Regions from separate parts of the Homo sapiens genome. Here all the other regions are linked to region 1. Evidence: promoter capture Hi-C in 16 types of primary human blood cells and fetal thymus (Javierre and others, 2016). All regions are on one chromosome and are shown on one strand. Each heading gives the region's core, a stretch centred on a gene start or on the middle of the fragment in contact. The rest is flanking DNA. Distances are from core to core; before and after follow the strand shown.

Region 1 (4,162 bases), core at 933-3,432:
GTCTTGCGAAAAGCTGTGGAAACGCACAGGCAACTGGAATAATGGAGCCATATCCCAGATACAACTTGGAGCTATAACTTATCTCTTGACTTCTAAATTAAGACACAGATTAATGGCGCATACATATATATATATAACCTTATATCTATATATATCTCCTAGCATTAAACCAGGGACTGCTCTCAACCTTGTTCAACATAATGTTCAGTATATTTACTGCAAAAGGACACGCTTTCGGAGAAAAACAATGCCGTACAGCAATGTGCAAATCACTTGATCCTATAAAGGGTCAGTTTCCTTTCTGTAAAACAGGGTTATTTATCATTACCCTGCCTCATAGTGCCACTGAGAGGCTCAAACAACACAGTGAATGTGAAACTGCTGAAGTATTTTTACTATGTAAGGTGCTCCTTTTGTGAACGTCTAAACTTTCTTCTAATAAGAGCTTTACTGTAAGGTTCTTTAGAATATCCATATAAAGAAGATCTAAATTAATAGGGTTTTGGAGGTGGCGATGGAGAAAAATGATGATTGGGAGGGATACTGGGTCAGAATATAAGGCGTTAGTTCTGGAATTACAGTGAAGTCCTGATGCAAAACCAGAACAGTTATGTGCTTACCCTCTGCAGACCCTGGCCAACTCCCTCGCTGCCCGCCCGCCTCCTCCGCCCGACTGTTACTTTTAGGTGAACTACTGGGGAGAAGTTGAGTGTGGTGGTGTATGGGGAGGGACTTTCAACCCTGAAGATCAACTTCTTCCCCAATCCCTTTAACAAACACTCCTCCTCCTCTTCGGGCCTTGTTCAGTTAGCCGAAACTATTTCTGGTAAGAAAATGGCTGTTACAAAATTTCTTTTAGGCAGCGTCCTATGAGTACCTACTCCTTCCCTCACCATGAACTATTTCTAACAGATTCAGAGTCAGAAAATCGTGTTATGTGTATGTTTTGTTTCTTCCAAGGCTCACCCACAGGCCTCACCCTCCCAGTCTTAACGCTCCCATATATAAAATGAAAAGTGACAGCGCCTGTCAGCTCCATCCCACGGCCACCAAGAGGATGAATGAGTGCCTGGAAGGCGCCAGAAGTGGTGTCTGTTAAACACCCCGTCCACCACTGTTTATAAAGTATCGTGATGAGTCCCGTTATGCCTTTCCGCTCAAGGAAACCGCCTAGTTAGAACCAACACTCTCCGTCACTGAGGAAGGCAACACTGAAGTTGGCCGGGCACGTATTATGCACAGAATCTGTGTCGGGGTGCGGGGACGGAGCGACCCCCCGTTACCGGGCGGGGCGGGGCTCAGGGCAAGCCTACCTGTTGTTCCGGATGCTGACCAGCACGCAAAGCACCAGCTCCAAGTAGGTGCGCAGCACTTCCAGCCAACGAGCTGAGAGCTGCAGGGCCTCGACTTCCTCCCCTCCAGTCCCGGTGTCCGCGCCACCTCCGTCCCCTGGGCCACCGCCGCTCAGATAGTTCTCGGCGGCGAATTCAACACGCAGCTCTCGCACGAACCAGCCGCACTTGCGCATGAGGAATTCCAGCCGAGGCTGCTCCGCGGGCGAGACGCGGAGGCAGATGCGGAGCTGGGGCCACAGGGCCGGATAGAAGAGGCACTCACGCCAGTGCGAGCAGGAGGCCGAGGCCCGCAGCCGGTCGGGCGCCGGCAGAAAAGAGAAGATGTGCACGATCAGCTCGCTGGGCAGCGACGCAGCGCCCGCCGCCTGCCCGCACAGAGCCATCCGGCCCCGCCGCCGGCTGCCGGCTCCCGGCCGCCCCCGCAGTACCCGGAGCAGCCCCCGCAGCCGTCGCAGCTGCTGCAGCCGCAGCCGCCGCCACCGCGCCACCCGGGCGGCCCCGGCTCGGGTTCGAGCTCCCGGCGGTCGGGGCTGCGGCACTGACAAGAACAACAACATCAATGACTAGGAAGAAGGGGGCGGAACCGTCGTGGGTCTCGGCGGAACCAAGTAGAACACAAGTTGTGGAGAGGGGGAAAGGCCTCTGCGGGCGTGGCCTGCCGGGAGCCAGCCTCTGTCTTCTCAAACTCTACTCACGTGCGTCCGAGGCCGGCACACTGAGTAACTGCACTGCCCTCGCTCGTAAACTTCAGCGGCCCGGAAGCCTCAAGGCGTACTGTAAGGAAAAGGCAGCCCTCCCTGCGCCGGTCGGCAGAGACAGAGAAGTGGTAGGAGCTGAGTTTGACGTCGCCGCTGGTGGGAGGAGTCCGGCGCGCACCGGCGCGACTTCCGGAAGAGGGGAGCGCCCGATTGCCTGTAGGGACGGGAGGCGCGGCACGTGATCTCTGACGCACGCAGGCCGCGGGGCGGGGCGGGGCTGGGCGGGGCGGGGCGGGGCGGGGCTGGGCGGGACTGGAACCGGCACTTGGCACCCCTTACGCCTTACGGTGGCCGCTGCGCCCAGTCACATCTGTAAGTCGGTTAATTTTGGCGCTCGGTCGATGGAGGTGGCGGTACTCTGGTTTAGTGCGAAAGGTCGTCACGCTTCTTTGTAAAACGTTTCTCAGTTTGGGCTGAGGACCCTGAGCCAAAGTGGCGGCATGCAGGGTCTTTCTCAGCCATCCCACCTGCCCAGAGTAGGGTTAAGAATTCCTGAGATTGCGCCGCTGAGAGGGAGCTGGCGGACGGGCGGGCTAACCCCGGCGGGCTGTGCCGGGAGGGGCGGTGTGGGGCGTGGCGGAGGCCGCGAATGGACCTGCCCCCTCGGTCCAACCACGCAGGTGGACTTCCGCGCACTCGCTGGTGTGTGGGGAAGCAGTGAGGACAGCGTCACCCTTTGGATTCAGAGGGAGAGAAAAAAATTGGCAAAGGGATCTGAGATCCGCAGGTTGTGACCAGCCTCTTCTCCAGGGCTTGAGGAAGGGTCTCTTTTCCCTGTGCTGAGATTTAAGGCTCTCGTTGAAAAGTTCACAGTAATGACAGAGCTTTGATTTTTTTTCTTTCTTCTTCTTCTTTTTTTGCCTGGTATCCCTAACTTAGATTTTCCAAACCATGTCCCTAACTTCACCACAGCCTACTGCAAAGTAAACTCTGGTTGCAAAGAGTGGTGAAGTCAGAAAAGATTAAGTGACTTTATGTAATAATCGAGGGTTGCTTTAGGGAGGCTGCCTCTTTATGTAATAATTGAGAGTTGCTTTAGGGAGGCTGTGATGTTGGAATAGCATCGTTCTTTTGTGGTAAACACCAAGACTTTTTGGACTTTTTTTTTTTTTTTTGGTTTTAAGGAGCGGAGAATTTAATAGGCAAGAAAGAAGGAAGAAGGCTGAAGGAAGAAGCTCCCCACTACAGAGACAGACGGAGGGGGCTCCCAAGACGAAAGAGGAGACCCCCATTCTAGATGTTCTTAACCCTTTGAGGGCAAAGCTCTCCGTTTAATGCCTTGCACATATCAGGTTGCCAACAACATGGTGTGGTTTATCAATTGTGATAGGTTACTTATTCGAGCCCCTGTTTACAAGAGTTTTAGGTAATTATACCTTATTAATTTTAATGAACTCTTAGAGGGCGACCCCAGTCGTGGGTTCGGCAGGATGAAACACTACCCATTTACCAGTTTACAGACATTTAGGTCGTTTCGAGTTATGAATAATGCTGTGAACATTCATGTGCAAGTCTTTATGTGGACGTATGTTTTAATTTGTCTTGGGTAGATACCTAGGAATGAAAGTGATGGGTCGTAGGGTAGTTCTATGTATAACTTTTTGAGAAACGGAAACTTTTTCCAAAGTGGCTGCATCATTTTTCATTCCCACCAGCCATGTATGAGGGTTTCCAGTTCTCTGACTTTTTTTTTTTTAATATTCTAGAAATGCACTGTAATTTGAGATTGATATTTTTTTCTTAGCATTTTGCTAGCAACAAGCTACCATCTTGGAGATCATTAATAATTAGTCTTTAATTATTAGGAATGGTTCCTGAGTAAAATGAAAATATGTCAGTCTGCCATAAATGAAATTCATTATTTTAGAATTTCAAACTTTCTTCTTAAATGAAGTGTGGTAGGAATCCTATTTTAACAACTGTAAGCTAAAGAATTAGCTGTGAATCTTGCCCAGTTTCAATAATAAATCAGTGAATTCCAATGGTTGCACAAAATTTATCTTATCAGGCCAATATATTTACTATTAATTAAATGTATATTGAGTATGT
Region 2 (4,162 bases), core at 978-3,477, about 19 Mb after region 1:
GGGAGGCTGAGGCAGAAGAATCACTTGAACCCAGGAGGCAGAGGTTGCAGTGAGCTGAGAAAATAAGCCTGGGCAATAAGGCGAGACCTAGTTTCTACAAAAAAGTAAAAAATTAGCCAGCGTGGTGGCAAGTGCTTGTAGTCCTAGCTACTCAGGAGGCTGAGACAGGAGGATTGCCTGAGCTCAGGAGTTGAAGGCTTCAGGGAGCTATGATCATGACAGAGCAAGGCCCTGTCTCTGGAAAAAAAAAAAAAAAGAGGGAAAGGAACTAAAGAGTAATGACAAAGAGCTGTAAGATCCAAATTAAGTTGTCATTTTAATAATTCAGAGTGCCTACACTCAGATCTTAGGTCACTGTTTCTTTCACATAAGTTTCACCTAGAAGGTAAGAGTTAAACTATCTCCAAGGTCTCTGGCGACTCTGACATTGTAGTTCTTTCAGTACACTCATAATATACAATAAATTGTGAACAAACAAGTACCACCTATGAGCCCAATTACGAAGAGAAAATGTAACTAAAATAAAAAATAATGGCCACGTGCGGTGGCTCACGCTTGTAATACTAGCACTTTGGTAGGCCGAGGCGGGTGAATCAAGTCAGGAGTTCGAGACCAACCTGGCCAACATGGTGAAACCCCGTCTCTAATAAAAATACAAAAAAAATTAGCTGGGCGTGGTGGCGGGCGCCTGTAATCCAGCTACTCAGGAGGCCTGAGGCAGAAGAATCGCTTGAACCTGGGAGGCGGAGGTTGCAGTGAGCCAAGATCGCGCCACTGCACTCCAGCCTGTGCCACAGAGTGAGACTTTGTCTCAAAAAACAACACAAAACTCATTAGAGAAACTCAGCAAGTTACAAAAAAATAATAATTAAAAGGGTCTTTAACGCTGAGCCCTTAAAGTCTTTTTTTTTCTTTTTTTTTTAAGACAGTCTTGATCTGTCACTCAGGCTGGAGCACAATGGCGCGATCTCAGCTCACTGCAACCTCCACCTGCCGGGTTCAAGCAATTCTCTTGCCTCAGCCTCCTGAGTAGCTGGGACTACAGGCGCGCGCCACCATGCCCAGTTAATTTTTTGTATTTTCAGTAGAGGCGGGGTTTCACCTTGCTGGCCAGGCTGGTCTCGAACTCCTGATCTCGTGATCCGCCCGCCTTGGCCTCCCAAAGTGCTGGGATTACAGGCGTGAGCCACCGCGCTCAGACTTTAAAGTCCATTTTAAGTCTAGACTTCTATGAAGGTAGACTGCCGAGATGTAAAAGAAATAAAATTAGTTATTTAGCTTTTAGATCGGATTACATTTTCTGCTTTGATTATTCTAAAGCCTCCAGTAAGGCGTAAAGGGAAAGCTCTAAGTAGCGCATCCTGGGAAATGAGCAGATCAGGGAAGGGGTGTTAGACCTGGTATTATGTCTAAAGACGATTTTCATTTAAAGGAGGATCTTCCCCCGGGCAGCTCAAGGTCACATCGTAAATACCTTATAGTCTAATTCAGTGTCCCAAAACAGGACCCCGACTCCCCAGATCCGGGTTGGGGGTGGCTCAGGGCCTAAAGTTCCTACCCTCGCCCAGGTGACACCATCTCCAGGAAGGTCTGCACCCGACCCGGCGAAGCGCTGTCCCGCTTCGCACCCCCCACTGCTCCAGGTACGTGCGGCGGCCTCCTCGGGAGACCCCGCCACTTTCCTGGAGCGTAGCCTGCCACCCCCCGTCCGGGAACCCCGGATTCTCACGGCAGAGAACAGACACCATACTTAAGCACAGGCTCTCGCATCCGACATCAGTACAAGGCTGGGGGTTGTTGGGGGACGGTTGAGCCTTGGGAGGGAGGGTCAGGGTCTGGACAGGAGCCGCGGCCGCCAGATGGGAAAGAACACGTGGGAGCAGTAATGTCAAGTGACACTTAAACCCTTAGACGCCGATTCGTTATAACGCGAGGAAATCTAGAAGAAAAAGCAGGTACCATCAGCGAATTCTAAAATCTCCTAAGGATTAACTTCGGTTATTTTCTGCTTAGACAACGCTTTCTATTCCCGACTTCCTCTCCAATAATGACCCGAATCTGTCGAAACTTCTTGGAAGCCTAATTTACCTAATCCCACGTCCCTAACGGTCTTCGGAAGCGAAGCAGTGTCAACAGTCCCTGGTAAACACAAGTAGTATTACAAGTCGGGAGCTCTTCAAGTCTTGGATGAGACTGTAGAGCGGTCTTGTGCGGCAATGTGCTACCTTAAAATAAATAAATAAATAAACCCCTGTTATGTCCGGAGTTTGTTTCCACCCGGAGAGGAATGGAAGAGCACCAGAGAGCGCTTAGCTTTCTGGTTGGATGTTTTGGGTGAGTTTCTTGGCGCGCATGCGTGTTGTGTCTCAAGGGCGGGTTTGAAGGGAAGTGGGTGTTGACCTGCGGGCAACTGACGCTGTTGTCAGATTACACCCACGACGGTGCGGGTCTCGGGCGTTCTGGAGATACGTAGGGGTGAATTTATGTTTCCGACGATTGCATCTGGAGGGGTGTGTAAGACTCTGTGGCTGAAGAAAGCTATTACGCTTCTTATGTGGGTCATTATTTTAAAAATAGCATTTCGCTTTTATTTGCTTGACTGCCTCTTCTCAACAAATTTTAAGCCCGCCACTACATGTGTTTGGTTTTGCCCTACCAGCTCTGGGGTTGGGGAGTGCACTGTTATGGTTATTGTTGCTCCTGTGGCCATTCTCTTGTCATCCCCACTTTCACATTTTGGCGTGGTGTATTAATAGACTGAGTGGGATTAATGGGTAAATATGACTTTATAGTCAGCTCTAATCCTGGATTCAATATCAGAATTTAGATTTTCAGCTTTGTGGATGTTCGACATTTTAAAAACAGTTATTGCAAAGAGGTGAAAATTTTGTTCTGAAGTCTTAAGGAAACAGAGAAAGTTTTTCCGTCCTTAAGTGTGGGACTTGTTTTGTGACCAACAATATGAAAGGCTCTGAGGTCAGCTTGGAGAAGAAAAAAAAGATTAAGATGCCAGTGAAGAGACTTCGTGAGGTAGTTTCTCAAAATCATGGAGATCATTTGGTTTTGCTGAAAGATGAGTTGCCCTGTGTTCCTCCGGCATTGTCTGCAAATAAACGTCTTCCTGTTGGAACGGGGACTAGTTTGAATGGAACATCACGTGGTATGTGATTCCATGTAGTTTTTCAACCAGTTTTAGTTTAGTAAATCTTTAGTCCTTATTTGTTTAAATTCCCAAACGTAAGATATAAGTCTAGTTTGTACAGATGTTTGAAAACTGACCCTGTTTCCCGGGAAAATGGCCAGGAAGCCTATAAAATGTTTGAATAGATGGAATGAATGAAACTTTAACGTCCCCTGTTGTGCTTTTTTTTTTTTTTTTTGCATTGACTTTTGCATATTTTTTTTTTTATATTTATGGTGGATACACTTAACTTGTATAATGTGCTTTATTTTCCCCCACGTAGTGTTTTTTATAGTTTTCCCCCAAAGTAGTGCTTTTTACCTAATTCACTACTTTCTTTTCATAGTGGGAAAAGCAGGACTTCTGCCAATTGATGGCTTCTATATTCCAATTCACTTAATCTGTCTAGAGCTCAGTGAAAATAAGGATAACATATGCTTTACCCACTTCGCTGCTAATTGTGAGGATTAAATTAATGAATATGTGAGCAAAAACAGCAAAACGCTTTTGTAATGCTGTTCTTTGGGGGATACAGCGGTGACACTCAAATAGTACTGCTGTTAAATTAGACCTTTACATCGTATACATATTTCTACCCATAGTTTGTCCACATCCAATAGTGTATGGTTATATTTTAAAATGTTTCGTGCTTAATCTCACTTTATTGTCAGTACCGAACCTTATTTTCCCAAATATCAACTGTAAAAACTTTCATTCAGATATGTTTAAATACATTTTCTTAACTTTTTTTGCATGCAAATTGTCTTTCCAACTTCTGCGTTATATGGAGTTTATAGATCTTGAATCATGCATATACAGTTTCTAAAGCTAAGGATCTGATTTTAAAATCACTAAAATCTATTCCTTTGTTTTGTTAGGTTCATCAGACTTAACTTCTGCTAGAAATTGTTACCAGCCTCTATTAGAAAATCCCATGGTGTCAGAAAGTGTAAGCAAAAGGATTCTTAATTATGCTCACGT
Region 3 (4,162 bases), core at 890-3,389, about 19 Mb after region 1:
AGACTTAACATTTTATGAGAACGTTAATCAGAAAACAATACATATGAAGGGTTTAAATATAATTAGTATAAATTGTGATATTGCAATGGCTGTATTCTGTTTTAGATACTAAACATCTTCTAGAAGGGTAATTTAATATATATAAACATGTTAAGTTTTTCACCTACCTTTCTGTTTTGAATTCTTGAACTGGATACCTGGCTTTGTTTTTCACATTGTTGCTGTATCTGAGGTGATGTTTAGCCTTCTAAGTTGAGTATCATAACCATCAATCTTTGGTTGTTCTAATTTACCAAGTAAACTATGTTCACTTCCTAATTCAATTTAATGAATACCTAGATTATGTTTTCCATGCATTTCTGGCCATTTGTTTATGTAATAAATCTGTTATATCAGAGTACCACTTTGGTTAATATCTGATATACAAAGGTCTGGAAACTGAAAGAAGGTCAACTGGTCCATCCCTATCTCTCCAGGTGAACCTTTATCTAAAAGGTACCTTAAATACAAATGCTGAATCCAATATTCACTATTTCTGTGAAAGAAAATGGATGCTATTTTGGTTGTCTTATAATTTTACAGTTCTTCGATTTAATTTTCTTGAAGGCAATGTGATATAGTGGAAAAGCTCTAAAGTAAGATTTAAGAGACTGGGCTGTCATGCTGGACTCTGCATATTATTTTCTCTTTCTGAACGGCAATTTTCAGTGTGTAAAGTAGGGGTAATAATAGCTACCTAACTTTTGTCAAAGTGTTTTGGAGCTCAAATTGCATAATAAATAGATAAGTACTATGAATGATAAAGATCTCAGACAGTGTAAGATAGAATTATCATAAGTATGGTGTTTATTTTTCTTAGCTAGATTATATAGTTGGTGGGAGTGATTTGGTTTATTTGTTTAAATTTGGTAAGGAAATTGGGATTTCACATTTTAGGTTGGAGCTATTGTTGAAACAAGGACATCTGATGGATCTTTTCAGGAAGCTATTATCAGCAAGTTGACAGATGCTAGTTGGTATACCGTGGGTAAGTAATTAAGTAATTTAACACAGATTTGATTTGGAGGTTGCATGTATCTGTGTTTTGTGGATACACTGAATCATTGTGTTGGTGGAGAAATATATATTATTTCCTGTCAGTTTACTGGATATAGCTGACTAAAATTCTAAGAATGCCCTGTAGGTAACAAAAATAATTATCTCTTACAGTAAGTTGGCCACTTTTGTCTATTTCATCCAAAAATGTACTTCTATTTTAGGTTACTTTGATGTTTCTTTTCAAGAAAGTTAGATCACATGATTGTGATCACTTTTTCTATAATTACAATTAAAATTGCATAGTTGCGATCGTTACTGTATTGCTACATATTTTATACAAGGGTAATGTAGATGTTGCCAGACAATTTACAGATTTAAAAAATCCTGACCATGGTAGATTCAAGAATAGGTGATTGTTAACTTAGTTTTTGATTTTTGATACAGTGTGGGTGCTCATATTAACAGCTTTCAAGGTCGGGCATGTTGGCTCATGCCTGTAATCCTAGCATTTTGGAAAGCTGAGGCGGGTGGATCACTTGAGGTCAGAAGTTCGAGACCAGCCTGGCCAACATGGTGAAACCCCGTCTCTACTGAAAATACACAAATTAGCCTGGTATTAGTGGTGCATGCCTGTAATCCCAGCTACTCTGGAGGCTGAGGCAGGAGAATCGCTTGAACCTGGGAGGCGGAGGTTGCAATGAGCCCAGATCATGCCACTGCACTCCAGCCTGGGCGACAGAGTGAGATTTGGTCTCAAAAAGAAAACAGCTTTTAAGAAAAATATAGATGCTCCTAATATGAATGCATGAATGCATTCTTAACATTCCATGCATAAGCTTATACTGGCTTTAGATAACTTTATTGTATTAATAGTGAGAAGCAACAAGTGTCATAATACTTGTAAGTTAAAACCTTAAAGTAGTACTTAAATAGTTGCTGTCATTATGTTGATGAGAATAGCATTAAGTAACATTTCCAAATCTCCTCTCAGTACTTTCAAACTGCACAATCCTGTGGATAACATCCAATCTATAGCATTGTTGGTTTTTATACTTATTTCTTGGTTTAAGTGGTATAATTATTTTGTGGTTTTCTTGTAGAAATAAAAGAATGACCATTTAGGTTTACTTTTAGTTTACTTGATTTGTTGCTTTGGGTAAAAATCATTCACATCCAGTTGATGCTCAGTGTTGTGAAGAACTATGCTTTGGTTAAAAATTTCTCTGTCTTACCCTGTACCTTCTATTAGTAGTACCAATTTGCTGTGTGTAAGTACTTTTTTCAAACCTCTTTGATGCTTCTTGGACTTACTAGAATTTAGTGTTGGTTCACAGTGGTGCTATTATTCTGAACTACATATTTTTAGGAAGCTTAGTTGTGGCTACTGATAGTTGTTAAATTTTAAAAACTAAGTGGCCAGATGCAGTGGCTCTAACCTGTAATCCCAGCACTTTAGGGGGGCGAGGTGGGCGGATCACCTGAGGTCAAGAGTTCAAGACCAGCCTGGCCAACATGGCGAAACCTTGTCTCTACTAAAAATACAAAAATTAGCTGGGTGTGGTGGTGGGCGTCTGTAATCCCAGCTACTCAGTAGGCTGAGGCAGGAGAATCGCTTGAATCTGGGAGGCGGAGGTTGCAGTAAGCCTAGATTGTGCCATTGCACTCCAGCCTGGGCAACAAGAGCAAAACTGCGTCTCAAAACAAATAAAAACTAAGCTTAATGTTAACTCTTAGAGATTAAGTAAATACATCTTTGCTTTATCAAACTAAGACCTGATAAAAATTACAGGTGTGTGTAGAATCACCGGAAAATATATGATGCATATTCAGATATTTATATTGCACCTTATATTTTAACTCACTATAAAGGTTGTACTCACTTTGAAGCTTTACTGATAAAATGCGCATGCTCTATAGAAGGATTACTTTTCAGGTTTTCTCATTTTGGGTTTCTTTATCCCAGAGTAGTTATTCAATTATGAATAGCAACCTTTGTCCTCTACATGAGTAGCGTTTTAGTGTTTCTAAAAACTAGTCACTGCTAAGCATTCTCTATGGTGATTTTCTGTGTTGGATAATTACAGAAGAAATTGTATAATTCTTGTTCTCAAAGAGCTTTAGAATCTTAATTGCATATAATTGAGGTATCAAGCATTAGTGGACATAAGAATCACTTGGTGCTTGCTTAGAAAAATGAGGATTTGAGGACCCCAAGCCTCTCCAATTAGTAGGCCTGGGGATGGCAGTACAAGAATGTTTTAATAAGCATGTCAGTGATTCTGATGCAGGTAGTTCACACTTATAAAAACAGGGAAAAACAGATTTATTTGGGAGAAAAATTCAAAATATTAAAGATTTTTGCACTTACGTGCATGAAGGAAATTCATAAAAAGATTTTGAAAGGCACTGTTCCATTCAGAAAACTCAAGATAGCACTGCTCTAAAGAACGTTTAGATATTGAAGGAAGTGGATCACATAAAGAATGATCAGAGTATAATGACCTGAGTTACCAGTTGGTTTAAAAAAAACAGTACAATGAAATGTAAAACCTCTTGGGTCATGAACATCCTGTATTTTTCTTTCAGTGAGTACCTACTACCTACCTATTAGGTGTAATTGCTCTTTTCTGGAATTTTTTTTGATTTCTAGTTCCTAGCAAAGTATTACATGGGTATAGTCAGAAAATTATTCAGAGTGTTTATGACGTGTGTTACCTTTTTTGGTTTCATGAGATACCAGAAATTATGTCAGATTATTAAAAATAAAACAAGAGGATACCACATTGCTGGTTTGGATCAAATAGGAGTTATGATCATTAGTGATCTAAAGTTATCATTAGAGTCAGTGATATTAACTTCTTCTTGCATAATACAGGTATCAATTTCCCTTCTGTTAAACATGATTAACCAATTTTGAAAGAGATTATGGATATAGTATGACTCAGTTTTTAAAAAATCTGGTAATATCTTACCCTCTAATGGTTTATTTCTTGTTTGTTTGTTCGTTTTAGAGACAGGATCTTGCTCTGTTGCCCAGGCTTTTGTTCAGTAGCACTATTGTAGCTTCCTGCAGCCCTGAATTCCTGGGCTCAAGCAGTCTTACCGCCTTAGCCTCCCAAAGTGT
Region 4 (4,162 bases), core at 976-3,475, about 18 Mb after region 1:
TATATATATGTATGTTATATATACGTTATATATATATATGTGTATGTGTGTGTGTGTATATATATATATATATAAAACGTATATATATACTACTTAACCTAATAGCAGGACCCCAGAAAGCAAAATATATATTTCCCCACCTCCTCCCCTTCCCCGCTAGGGAGAGGGGAAAAAAAAAAATCAAACATATTTCCAAATAAGTTACTGAAATCATGTGGTCAAACATTTAAATAAAAATATACATAAGATGGTCCAAGGTACAACTGGAACTGTCAAGCAGGATTAACTCAAAGGATAATGTCTTATGAACTGTATGACAACATATATAACAGTTTTCAGTTAAGAGCTGGCTTGCCGGCAAATACCTTAATTAAAGATCTCATACAACTTCATCGTTTTCTCCCTTTTTAAGATGTGAAAAATAAAACAAGGAACCACAGCACTACTTAGTACCTAGGGACACAGTAAAAGTTCCTAGCAGGAAAAATGTCTCCCCGTTCTTGTGTCAATAAACAGATGGCACAATTTTGGAATTACAGAAATTAATGTAGCATATCTCCCAACACTTAAGTGAGAAAATACAATATCTCTGAAGTCTTTCTTGTAATTACAATCCTTCATTCACAAATTACTGTCTTATTACAACTTATTATAACAATAACATATATTACTCCTCTCAAAAAAAGCATTATCTATCCAAAAGCTGACTGATATGCAAAATATAGTAACAATAACAAATGTAAATTTCCATTTGTTATTAAAACTGTGGCATTCAAATTGTAAGCCACAAAAACTGCTGAATCTTACGCAGAAAAAGGATACCATTTTCACTTATGGAGAAGTTCCCTATTGTGGATTACAGTCTTCTCAATTATTACACTTTTGTTACTCAATGTGAAACACAAGCACACACACAAAAAAGGGGTCTTTCTTTCCTTTTTCTTATCCGTTTTCATTTCTTTCACACAAGGAGATGCTTTATACGTGTCATTGTTTTGTAGCCTAATTAGAGTTTTCCTATTCTATTATCTCAAACTTTTATCACAGCTTCTTACAACGGACTTCACGAAATTAAATTTTAAGGTTTAGATACTGTAAACGCTCGAGGAAAGACATTAGTATTCTCACTATTACATATTAAGGATTCTCTAGCTTGCAGTTAGGTGATTTTATAATACATGTAAATGCATATAATACACTTAAGGTGCATTATATACATGAAACGAAGTGTTCGTTTTATTTTATAAACTTTTTTTATTTTATAATACACGTAAATGCCTCGAGTGTATTATTATGTATTACATGAAATAAAGTGTTCACTTGAATTTTGCCTCCCTTCAGTCTATCTCTCTTCAGTCGAAAGAGATAAGTAGGCCTTTATTGTCCAAAAAAAAAAAAATTGTCCCAGCCTTTTCAAATGTCAGGTTAAACTGGCAGTCCTATGAATGCCACCTGCAACCTTACTAATGGAATAATTACTCAAAACGAGAAGCCCCCAAGAGTCCCGATCTCAAGTGGCTTCCTCCTATTATTCCCGCGAGGACCCCAGCGACAAGACTCGCCCAACCTGAGGCTCCTGGCTCTCTTTCCTCGTCCTGAGTCAGCCCTTCCCACTACTCATCCGGAGTAGACATCTTCCAACACCCGAACCTTCCAGACTTTCCCTCTTGCCCCCACAAACAAAAGCAACCCTCCTCCCTTGGGACACCCGGCTTCCCCTCTCTGCCGACCGGCCGCCCAGCCCACCTCGGCCCCAAGCACCCCTCCCCCATTTCACGCTCCGCCCGCGCTGACACGGAGCTGCCACCCCAACCCTTCTGTTTCGCACCTCTCTCCCGAGGGCTCCTCCTGGGCAGCCAGCAAACGCCCGCTCCTCGGCCCGCCCACCCAGCTGCCTGCAAACCCCGGGCCTGCCACTCCCTGTAGAGCCGCCGGGGCCCACCTCGAAGAGCTCGGCCGTGGTAGCCATCCCGGCCGGCTGAGAGGCTCGCCCCCCACTGGATGCCGTCTCCGCTTCACATGCTGCGCCTCAGAGGCGCGGCGCACAGGTCTCCGCTCGGCTCGCCAGCTCCGGCTCCGGGCCGCTGCGGGCTCCCCAGCTCCCCACAGATCCCAGGAGGGGCGGGAGAGCGGCCATGAAGCGAAGCCGCAAACGCTTGTCAGCTGCCTCCCGGCGCCGCCCGCGCTGCTCCCATTGTCACCGCCTCATACGCCGGAAGTGGAACTGCGCGCGCCAGGGAGGTTGTCGGGAGGGGCCGGCGAATAAAACGAGCGGCGAAAGAACCGAAAAAAGGCTCGACGCTACCGTGTATGAGGAACTTTGATCCTTGCGGGCCACCATTCCGGAAGTAGAATTTAGAGGAAGAAAATACCGGAGTTGCAGGGTATAGGTAAATTTCTCAAGGTTATAGGTTGGGGTTCTTAGAACTTTTTGTGGTGTGTGTTGGCCTAGAGCGACTCAGAAGCGTTAGTGACTTCACCTAAAAAAGCTAACCTCTCTGCTGAGCGCGACCGGTATGCGGCGCAGGATGAGCCTCAGGGCTTCTGTTAAGAGTCTGTCTGAGAAAGCCGGTCTGCGCTGTTCCTCGGTGGCGACCTTAATTATGAGATGAGCTAATGCTTTACTGACTTAACCATGGCGCAGCGGGCAGTGTGGCTCATAAGCCACGAACCGGGAACTCCACTTTGTGGCACCGTGAGATTCTCCAGGTAAATGCAAATCTGAATCCTCAGGGATGATGGATCAGAAGATCGATGAAGTAGCATAGTTTTGTGGTGCTTCGTGGCCCAGGTTTGCCACGAATAGCTGCGTGACCTTGGGCTAGCCAGTTAACAGACCTCTGTTTCGTCTGTTAAATGGAGATTTTAATAGTCCTACCTTACAGTGTTGTGAGAATTGAGTTGATGACTGGTACATATTATTTACGGTATATGTTTTCTATTAGTATTGTGTTTTAAAATGACCTCCGTCTGCTTAGAATTAAAATGGAGATGACTAAGGGAACGGTAGAAAATTTACTGAGCACTAAACATTTTCAGATTTTTCAACATGCATTGACAAAATCGTTCCAGAACATTTTAACTTATTCTACTGAAAAATCCATGCTAAGTTATATCAGACTTTTATTTTTTTGTTTTTATTTTTTTGAGACGGAGTCTCGCTCTGTTCCCCAGGCTAGAGTGCAGTGGTGCGATCTCCGCTCACTGCAAGCTCCGCCTCCCGGGTTCATGCCGTTCTCCTGCCTCAGCCTCCCGAGTAGCTGGGACTACAGGCACCCGCCACCACGCCCGGCTAATTTTTTGTATTTTTGGTAGAGAGGGGGTTTCACCGTGTTAGCCAGGATAGTCTTGATCTCCTGACCTCGTGATCCGCCCGCCTTGGCTCTCAAAGTGCTGGGATTACAGGCAGGAGCCACCGCGCCCCGCCCAGGCTTTTATTTTTATCTTGTTAATATGTGTCAATGGTAGAAATCATCAGTTTACAGTTCCTAATTGTTGAAGAAAATAGAAACACAAAAAAATGTATTCACTATTTCATATATTGTGTTAAGTTGATCTGGTCCCACTATTAGAATTTGCCCTGTGTAATCAAAATAGCTCTGTTAAGGGAATTGTACAGTAACTCATTGTAAAATGTTGGTGGCAATCGAGTGGGTCTATTTCACCTTTTATTCTCTGGCCATTGATAGTTCTTTTTTGTCACAATTCGTTCTTCCCTGAAGAAAGCTTATAGTGAAGTAGTACCATAGTAGAATTGAGATTGAGGCAGAAAAAAAAGATTTTAATTTTAAATGAAAATTGGTTGGCAATGGGGATATGAAAAATTCCTTCTTTGCAACCTTAACAGTTTTTGTTCCTGAGGGCATCAGAGTTGGAGTTTACCATTTCCCCCCAGGATTTCTGGCTGACACTAACCCCAACATTTGTTGTTGGACCTCAAATACAGGAGATTAATAATATTCTTTAGTACGTGGTTTTACCAGGCGCATCAGTCCGTACAAAGTATCTCTCATTTTACTTATATTCCCTTTGGTTACCTATTTCTAACTGCCGTTCCCTTCCCACTGACAGATAACTCTTAACATCTTCGATGTTACTCTTTTTCATTGTATGCATTTTTCAAATTACATAATTAAGTGTGCTTTAGACTTCACTTCCTAAT
Region 5 (4,162 bases), core at 954-3,453, about 14 Mb after region 1:
TCATTCTACAGGGTTTGAATAGGTGTCTGGCCACCTATATGCCAGGCACCTCTATGCTAACTTCTACTATAAGAGAGAATGGGAGAGAGTTCTTTCTTTCTTCAAGGAACTTACAGCCTAGAGGGGGATACAGACAAGTAAACAGATACATTATATTATAGTACAGTATGAAAAGTACTATGAAGGGGATTATAAATAAGGAATATCACAACATTTAAAATATCTCTATTCCTTTATGTTTCTTGATAGAATGTAGCCTAACTATATAACTATCTGGTCAGATTATTTTGGCCAGATTTTAACTCTTGACTACACAATTTCCGTTAACATTATCCTCTGTTAAAAAAAAAAAAAAAAAAAAAAAAAAAAAAAAAAAGAAGTACTAAGGCCGGGCGCGGTGGCTCACGCCTGTAATCCCCGCATTTTGGGAGGCCAAGGCGGGCAGATCACGAGGTCAGGAGATCGAGACCATCCTGGCTAACATGGTGAAATCCTGTCTCTACTAAAAAAAAATACAAAAAATTAGCTGGACGTGGTGGCGGGCACCTGTAGTCCCAGCCACTCGGGAGGCTGAGGCAGGAGAATGGCGTGAACCCGGGAGGCGGAGCTTGTAGTGAGCCGAGATCACGCCACTGCACTCCAGCCTGGGCTACAGAGCGAGACTCCGTCTTGGAAAAAAAAAAAAAGTACTTTCTGCTTTGCATTGAATGAATGTTTCTATTACTTTTAAGTGTGCTTATTTGGTTATTTTGAGAAGATTATCCTCTTGTGGTTCACTGGGGAAATGCCACACTCCTTTTAGGTAGAGTGATCATTTTTGAAGGAAATGTTGATTCTCAACACAACCCAGGTGGCAGAAGAAGGGAATCCTAGATTCTCTGCTGACCTGGTTATCTTGGTCTAGAGCCAGGTGTGTGTAATCTTTTGGCTTTCCTGGGCCACATCGGAAGAAGAAGAATTGTCTTGGGTCACACATAAAATACACTAACACTGATGATAGCTGATGAGCTTAAAAAATCACGAAAAAATCTCGTACTGTTTTAAGAAAGTTTATGAATTTGTGTTGGGCCACATTCAAAGCCATCCTGGGCTGCATATGGCCCATGGGCTGCAGGTTGGGCAAGCTTGGTCTAGACCTTGTTGAGGGGAGATGTCAATCAACATTTGTGGGCTGAGATTGCTTCTGCCCCTTGGAAGTGAGCTTGGGCTATGGCAGACCCATATACTGGGTCCCAGGCTGACAGTGCTCAGAAGATATTTGAGAGCACAATATCTAACTTCATGTGACTGCATGTGTTTATTTCCTTTTTACTCCCTAGCCATCATAGCAAGGCAAAGGTCATGATGTTGTTTTTCTCAACTTTTCTGCTTTAAAAAGTCATGTTTTATCTAATGCCTCCTGTTCCTGCTCTCCTTTTGTTTTCTAGATCATCTTCTCAGGTAATATGATCCTGACCAGAGGGAGATGGGTTGGGGCATCTATTCTAGTCCCCACCTGCCAGAATAGGTGTCAGGTGGCTCCTCACCACTCTACATCATTAGTGTGTACAATGGACACAGCATTATCTGAACTTCCATGGCTCTATGTAAAGCATTCCATTGTATTTTAATAATTACGCAAGACAAGGCCTCTTTCACATAAGGCAAATAAGTGTGATTGATTCAGACTTCTGGCATTACTGGGCCATGCTGCCGCAAGAAACAGGTGCATGTGGAATCAAGCCTGACGGAGTTATTGGTGTGCAGAAAAAAAAAAAGGTAAGCCAGTTGGTTTGTACTACAAAAGACTAAAACAGCTCGTCTGTGTATCCTACCACCTTCCTGTCCCCATTAGGCATATGGCAAGAGCTATCTGGTAACAACGGCCATCTCCTCCCGCGTCTCAAAGATGTTTTCGTGCAATTGTGTGCTGTCTTTCCCTTTTCTTCTTTTCTTAAAGTTTGTCCCTGTTATTCATTTTATTATTTTAGAGATAGGGTCTTGCTGTTGCCCGGGTGAAGTATAGTAGGCCAATCCTAGCTCACTGCAGCCTTGAACTCCTGGCCTCAAGTAATCCTCCTGCTGCAGCCTCCCCAGTAGCTAGTATTACAGGCACAAGCCACCATGTTGTTCATTTTAACCTGTCTTCACGTTTGTAACATTAGGGAATGCTTGATGCCAAGTAATTTATCCTGAGCCAACATCCCACACCTGCACTTGAAATAGCTTCATCCAAAGTGTATGATGGAAGACCCCTATTTAGAATGAAAGAAAGAGGGCAGACATAACCATGCCCCCATCTGCTGTATCTCGTGTTCGATAAGCCATCCACCACAACTTAAATTTTATTTCACTTTTTATTTTTAGGATTACTACTTATCTGGTTTTTAAAGATGAGAGTGTTTTATCTGATGCCCTGACCAAATGAAACAACAACCTAGACTGAAGCAGGGAACATTCGCTGGACATTTCAGGCACTGTGCTAGGCTCTACAGTGAAGCATTCACAGTCTAGTGGTGTCTATAAATAAAACCAAAATGCTAACTTTTAAATTCCTATGAGGAATATAATTGTAATGCCACTATAGCTGCATCACTACCATGGGGTCATTCTCTCCCTACAGACAGATCAATAAACAAAATCAAATTACAATCCAAAGGAAGCAAGGTGGGCAGAAATAACGTAGGGATTCATGATGAATAAAGTCATTAATCCTTCCATTTATTCATTCAACAAATATTTATTGTCTAGTGCTATTGTGTTTTTATTTTTAACTGAAATTACACTTAAAATTTAGAATTATGAAATGCATTTATTTAAAGATTTATAAGAGGCCTATCCACAAAACCATACTTACCAAAACCCTATAAAAATGTTTTCTATTCCTTTTGGAAATAAAGGTCAGTGGTGGTGAAGGTATATATTCAAATGAAAGAAAGTATAAATCAATACAACATTGATGCATACTCTGTGGAGGCAGCCACAAAATCCTCATCAGCTTGTTTATATCAGACAGATTTGGCCATCTTCCTGCCCTTTCATTATAGAAAAGTGAGTTGGGCCATAGCTATTGGCTGCTGTGAGGCCCACATTATGCACCCATTGTAGATGTATTTAATGACTTCTGCGCTCTAGGATTTTTTCCTACCTCCACAGGTAAGTTGAAAGTACATATTTGTTCACAGACTCATATGAGCCTTCAATAAAAAGTAATTGATAATCATAATATGGTGCTGAGCAAGACTTAGAGGCAGCACCTTGCGTATGTGTATTGTCATATATAAGTTAAAAAGGAAAGAAAAGAGAAGCTTTGTTCCAATAAGGATTTATTTCCACTAATGTAACTGTCAGTAATTTGCTGAGCATTTAAAAGACTGAACAGCAGAATTGATTTACTGTTTTTGCAACTGCTGCTTAAAAAAGTATGTTTATCCTTACATCATAAGTCAGCAACTCATTTAAAGTTTCAGCTTGAATAAAATATGATTCTAGGCCGGGTACGGTGGCTCACGCCTGTAATCCCAGCACTTTGGGAGGCCAAGGCGGGTGGATCACAAGGTCAGGAGTTCGAGACCAGCCTGCCCAACATGGTGAAACCCCATCTCTACTAAAAATACAAAATTAACTGGTCGCGGTGGTGCGTGCTTGTAATCCCAGCTGCTCGGGAGACTGAGGCAGGAGAATCACATGAACCCAGGAGGCAGAGGTTGCAGTGAGCCGAGATCATGCTACTGCACTCCAGCCTGGGCAACAAGAGCGAAACTCCATCTCAAAAAAAAAAAAAATATATATATATATATAATAATCATACATATAATAATCATTATATATACATATATATGATTCTAGACTCACAAGCTCCCAAATTCTTTTTGTGGGTCTCCCATTGGGTTACTTGAACCATACTAGATAGCCATTAGGATAATACCATTAATAAATGTAAATGGCATGGTAGAAAAGCAAAATTCTTCAGAAATTTTATCTTCAAGATTCAGCAACATATATTTTAAATATGAGAAATTAGTAACAATGGCCCTGCATTTGTGACTCCTTCACTTCTAAAGTTTAGAACATCAGATTCATACTAATTCTTAATCATCTGTAAGAACTCACAAATAGTCCTTCATTTGATTATTCATATTACTCTGCTTCTGAGGTTAACAATTATAAACTTTGATCACTC
Region 6 (4,162 bases), core at 1,199-3,698, about 10 Mb after region 1:
TCTTACTGATTTTAAAAAAAGAAAACAAATTTCTAGAAAGACAAGGCTGAATTCATTGTCTCCACTTTTTATCTTTTGACCTTTACTGGTTTACTGAAAACACTGTCTCAGAGATCACTGATCTTTTCACTTGTCTATCACAGTATCATTATTTCTCATTATTTTTGCACTCTGTAGAATTTGACAATGATAATTACCCTTTTCTTAATAAAACTCTTTCTTTTCTTGGTATCTATGATAGGGCACTATGGTTTACCTTCAGTTTTCTTAGTCACTTCTTTGTCTCTTGCTTCCAGCAACATTTTTTTCTATCCCCAAAATAAAGGCTTTATTTCAGTCCTCTGCTGTTTTCTGTCATACCTGCCTTCCATTTGATAGTTCAGCTGTTATATGGGTGAATCCCAAGTCTGTGAACCAGTATGCTTTATTGTACCTAGTTGACCCAGGTCTTCTCCAGACTTTTCCCTACTCTGGTTCATTGTGTACAGTGCTACCAAAATAGTATTTAGTTCTTGTCATGTAACTTTCATACTTAAAATCCCTCCACTTTACGTTGGCATCTGAGCTCATTTACAATCTGTCCTCATACTGTATTTCCAATCTTTTGCTCTACATAGCTTCCATGTTCCAACAAAAATTAGCTTTTTTTTTTTTCTTTTTTTTTTTTTTATATGGAGTCGCTCTGTCGCCCAGGCTGCCGTGCAGTCTTGCGATCTTGGCTTACTGCAACCTCTGCCTCCCAGTTTCAAGCAACTCTCCTGCCTCAGCCTACCAAGCAGCTGGGATTACAGGCGCCTGCCGCCATGCCCCACTAATTTTTATATTTTTAGTAGAGACGGGGTTTCACCATGTTGGCCAAGCTGGCCTTGAACTCCTAACCTCAGGTGATCCACCCACCTTGGCCTCCCAAAGTGCTAGGATTATAGGCGTGAGCCACCAGTCCCAGCCTTTTTTGTTTGTTTGTTTTGTTTTGTTTTGAGACCGAGTTTCACTTGTGTCGCCCAGGCTGGAGTGCAGTGGCGCGATCTCGGCTCACTGCAACCTCTGCCTCCCAGGTTCAAGCAATTCTCCTGCCTCAGCTTCCTGACTAGCTGGGATTACAGGCATGCGCCACATTGCCCAGCTAATTTTTGTATTATTAGTAGAGAAGGGGTTTCACCATGTTGGCCAGGCTGGTCTGAAACTCCTGACCTCAAGTAATCCGCCTGCCTTGGCCTCCCAATGTTATGGGATTATAGGCGTGAGTCACTACACCTGGCCTTAAACTCAAATTTTTTTTTTTTTTTTTTAATTTTTCAGATAGAGTCTTGCTCTGTTGCCCAGCCTGGAGTGCAGTGGCACAATCTCGGCTCACTGCAACCTCCGCCTCCCGGGTTCAAGCGATTCTCCTTGCTCAGCCTCCAAAGTAGCTGGGATTACAGGCATGCACTACCACGCCCAGCTAATTTTTGTATTTTTAGTAGAAACAGGGCTTCACCATGTTGGCCAGGCTGGTCTCAAACTCCTGACCTCAAGTGATCCACCTGCCTCGGCCTCCCAAAGTGCTGGGATTACAGGCGTGAGCCACTGCGCCCCACCTAAACTCAAATCTTAAGTGGAATAGTCAATCATTTCCTATCTTATTTTATACTCTTATGATTTCCCTTTATTTTTGTTATTTTTTTTTTTTTTTGAGACAGTCTCACTCTGTTGCCCAGGCTGGAGGGCAGTGATATCATGGCTTACTGCAGCCTCTACTTCCTAGGCTCAGGTGATCCTCCCACCTCAGCCTCCCAAAGTGTTGGCATGACTTCCCTTTGAACAGTTTTATTTAGAATGTGTCCCTCCACGTAATTTTTTTCAAAAACTTTTAAACTTGAAATTTAGTCAAAATAAAGTACTAAAAAAAAGTTTTACAGTCAATTTCAGTAAATCATTGTATCACATTCATAAGTAATGCCATAGAATTTGTTATGGGAAGAACTAGCATGTATGTATTATCTCCAGTGGAATTTATAATTCTACAACTTTTATTTATTCAGGCCATTTCCAGCAGTTTAAAAGGTTTCCTTTCAGCTATGAGACTGGCTCATAGAGGCTGTAATGTTGATACACCAGTTTCAACGCTCACACCAGTGAAGACTTCAGAATTTGAAAACTTTAAAACTAAAATGGTTATCACATCCAAAAAAGACTATCCTCTAAGTAAGAATTTTCCATATTCCTTGGAACATCTTCAGACTTCTTACTGTGGGCTTGTCCGAGTTGATATGCGTATGCTTTGCTTAAAAAGCCTTAGGAAATTAGACTTGAGTCACAACCATATAAAAAAGCTTCCAGCTACAATTGGAGACCTCATACACCTTCAAGAACTTAACCTGAATGACAATCACTTGGAGTCATTTAGTGTAGCCTTGTGTCATTCTACACTCCAGAAGTCACTTCGGAGTTTGGACCTCAGCAAGAACAAAATCAAGGCACTCCCTGTGCAGTTTTGCCAGCTCCAGGAACTTAAGAATTTAAAACTTGACGATAATGAATTGATTCAATTTCCTTGCAAGATAGGACAACTAATAAACCTTCGCTTTTTGTCAGCAGCTCGAAATAAGCTTCCATTTTTGCCTAGTGAATTTAGAAATTTATCCCTTGAATACTTGGATCTTTTTGGAAATACTTTTGAACAACCAAAAGTCCTTCCAGTAATAAAGCTGCAAGCACCATTAACTTTATTGGAATCTTCTGCACGAACCATATTACATAATAGGTAAGATTTTAATAGTCATGTAATGTGGTGTCTTTGATAGCATTCTAATATTCCTATCAAACTCAGAGTAATAAAGTCTAACATTGCTTACAGTGCTATGCACAGTCTGACCCTTTGCTATAATGGTCTTCTTGTTCCTTACCTCTGCTTAGAATGATTTTTCTCCAGGAAGTCTCATTGCTCACTCCCTCACTTCATTCAGTTTTCTGCCGAAGTGTCATCCCAGAAAGGTCTTACCTGTCCATTCTATCTAAATTTTATTCCTTCCCTCCTTACATTGCTTGATTTTTTTTTTTTTTTTTTTTTTTTTTTTTTTTTTTTTTTTTGGTCATAGGACTCATTGCCTGTTATATATATTTTTAAACTTTTTTTTTTGTTTACTGTCAGTTTTCCCCACTAGAATGTAAGATCCATCAGCACATGGATGTTGTTTTATTCTCCACTATTTCCCTAGGATCTAAACCATGTATACCCTGCTCCTAGCATATATTAAGCACTCAATAAGTAGTTAAATGAATGAATGGCATTGTTTCTCAAAGTGTGCTCCCCTGACCAGCAGGATCTGCATTACCTAGGAACTTCCTAGAGATGCAGGTTCTAACATTCCAGACCTACTGAATCAGAAACTGAGAGTGGGGTCCAGCTGTGTCTTAGTGAGTCTTCCAAGTGATTTTGATGTACTCTAAAATTAGAGAGTTCGCATAGTGATGAAGGGTGGTCTTTGGAGTCAGACTTGGATTTGATTCCTGGCTTCACCACTTTGTATGACTTTAACCTCTTTTTTTTTTTTTTTTTTTTTTTTTTTGAGATGGAGTCTCACTCTGTCGCCCAGGCTGGAGTGCAGTGGTGCGAAGCGATCTCGGCTCACTGCAAGCTCCGCCTTCCAGGTTCACGCCATTCTCGTGCCTCAGCCTACTGAGTAGCTGGGACTACAGGCGCCCGCCAACACGCCTGGCTAATTTTTTTTTTGTATTTTTAGTAGAGACGGGGTTTCACCGTGTTAGCCAGGATGGTCTCGATCTCCTGACCTCGTGATCCGCCCGTCTTGGCCTCCCAAAGTGCTGGAATTACAGGCTTGAGCCACCACACCTGGCCCTTTTTTTTTTTTTTTTTTTTTTTTTTGAGACAGGGTCTCACTCTGTTGCCCAGGCTCGAGTGCAGTGGTCCAATCTCAGCTCACTGCAACTTCTGCCTCCCAGACTCAAGCAACTCTTCTGCCTCAGCCTCCTGAGTAGCTGGGATTACAGGCGCCCACCGCCATGCCTGGCTCATTTTTGTATTTTCATTTTATTTATTTGTTTGAGACAGAGTCTCACTGTGTCACCCAGGCTGGAGTGCAGTGGCGCCATCTCGGCTCACTGCAACCTCTGCTTCCCGAGTTCGAGCGATTCTCCTGCTTCAGCCTCCTAAGTAGCTGAA

The links. The method cuts DNA at HindIII sites, captures the fragments that hold promoters and counts their contacts. A CHiCAGO score of 5 or more calls a contact.
Region 2: the fragment with the promoter of TIMM9 here is called in contact with the fragment with the promoter of FBXO33 in region 1 in 1 of 17 cell types (non-activated CD4 T cells); the score reaches 5.4 in non-activated CD4 T cells.
Region 3: a fragment that was not itself captured here is called in contact with the fragment with the promoter of FBXO33 in region 1 in 1 of 17 cell types (total B cells); the score reaches 5.5 in total B cells.
Region 4: the fragment with the promoter of EXOC5 here is called in contact with the fragment with the promoter of FBXO33 in region 1 in 2 of 17 cell types (non-activated CD4 T cells and total B cells); the score reaches 10.6 in non-activated CD4 T cells.
Region 5: a fragment that was not itself captured here is called in contact with the fragment with the promoter of FBXO33 in region 1 in 1 of 17 cell types (non-activated CD4 T cells); the score reaches 5.8 in non-activated CD4 T cells.
Region 6: a contact is called between a fragment that was not itself captured here and the fragment with the promoter of FBXO33 in region 1, in 1 of 17 cell types (non-activated CD4 T cells). The highest score is 5.6, in non-activated CD4 T cells.

Annotation. Positions count from the first base shown.
Region 1 is chr14:39,430,251-39,434,412 of GRCh38, forward strand. It overlaps FBXO33 (F-box protein 33), which reads right to left and starts at 2,183. Exons shown (of 4, transcript NM_203301.4): 1 at 1,314-2,183. The coding sequence starts at 1,912. LOC105370461 (a long non-coding RNA gene) reads left to right here and starts at 2,189. Exons shown (of 8, transcript XR_007064121.1): 1 at 2,189-2,269. RefSeq lists silencers at 1,172-1,301, 1,742-1,871, 2,612-2,781 and an enhancer at 1,972-2,221. The HindIII fragment of the contact is 7,836 bases long and covers 1-4,162 here.
Region 2 is chr14:58,425,304-58,429,465 of GRCh38, forward strand. It overlaps TIMM9 (translocase of inner mitochondrial membrane 9), which reads right to left and starts at 2,228. Exons shown (of 6, transcript NM_012460.4): 1 at 2,089-2,228; 2 at 1,751-1,939. KIAA0586 reads left to right here and starts at 2,416. Exons shown (of 31, transcript NM_001329943.3): 1 at 2,416-3,160; 2 at 4,060-4,130. The coding sequence starts at 2,962. RefSeq lists enhancers at 420-1,363, 2,378-2,427, 2,498-2,687. The HindIII fragment of the contact is 11,466 bases long and covers 1-4,162 here.
Region 3 is chr14:58,305,086-58,309,247 of GRCh38, forward strand. It overlaps ARID4A (AT-rich interaction domain 4A), which reads left to right. Exons shown (of 24, transcript NM_002892.4): 5 at 937-1,027. Among named protein-coding and RNA genes, the nearest start is that of ARID4A, 8.6 kb to the left of the region's middle. The HindIII fragment of the contact is 534 bases long and covers 1,873-2,406 here.
Region 4 is chr14:57,266,680-57,270,841 of GRCh38, forward strand. EXOC5 (exocyst complex component 5) reads right to left here and starts at 2,226. Exons shown (of 18, transcript NM_006544.4): 1 at 1,943-2,226. The coding sequence starts at 1,969. It overlaps AP5M1 (adaptor related protein complex 5 subunit mu 1), which reads left to right and starts at 2,292. Exons shown (of 8, transcript NM_018229.4): 1 at 2,292-2,709. The coding sequence starts at 2,636. RefSeq lists a silencer at 1,657-1,716 and enhancers at 2,026-2,609, 2,257-2,456. The HindIII fragment of the contact is 4,317 bases long and covers 1-3,724 here.
Region 5 is chr14:53,154,816-53,158,977 of GRCh38, forward strand. It overlaps DDHD1-DT (DDHD1 divergent transcript), which reads left to right. Exons shown (of 3, transcript NR_110062.1): 2 at 1,428-1,758; 3 at 2,347-2,713. Among named protein-coding and RNA genes, the nearest start is that of DDHD1-DT, 3.5 kb to the left of the region's middle. The HindIII fragment of the contact is 2,163 bases long and covers 1,123-3,285 here.
Region 6 is chr14:49,605,379-49,609,540 of GRCh38, forward strand. It overlaps LRR1 (leucine rich repeat protein 1), which reads left to right. Exons shown (of 4, transcript NM_152329.4): 3 at 2,022-2,743. Among named protein-coding and RNA genes, the nearest start is that of LRR1, 8.5 kb to the left of the region's middle. The HindIII fragment of the contact is 276 bases long and covers 2,311-2,586 here.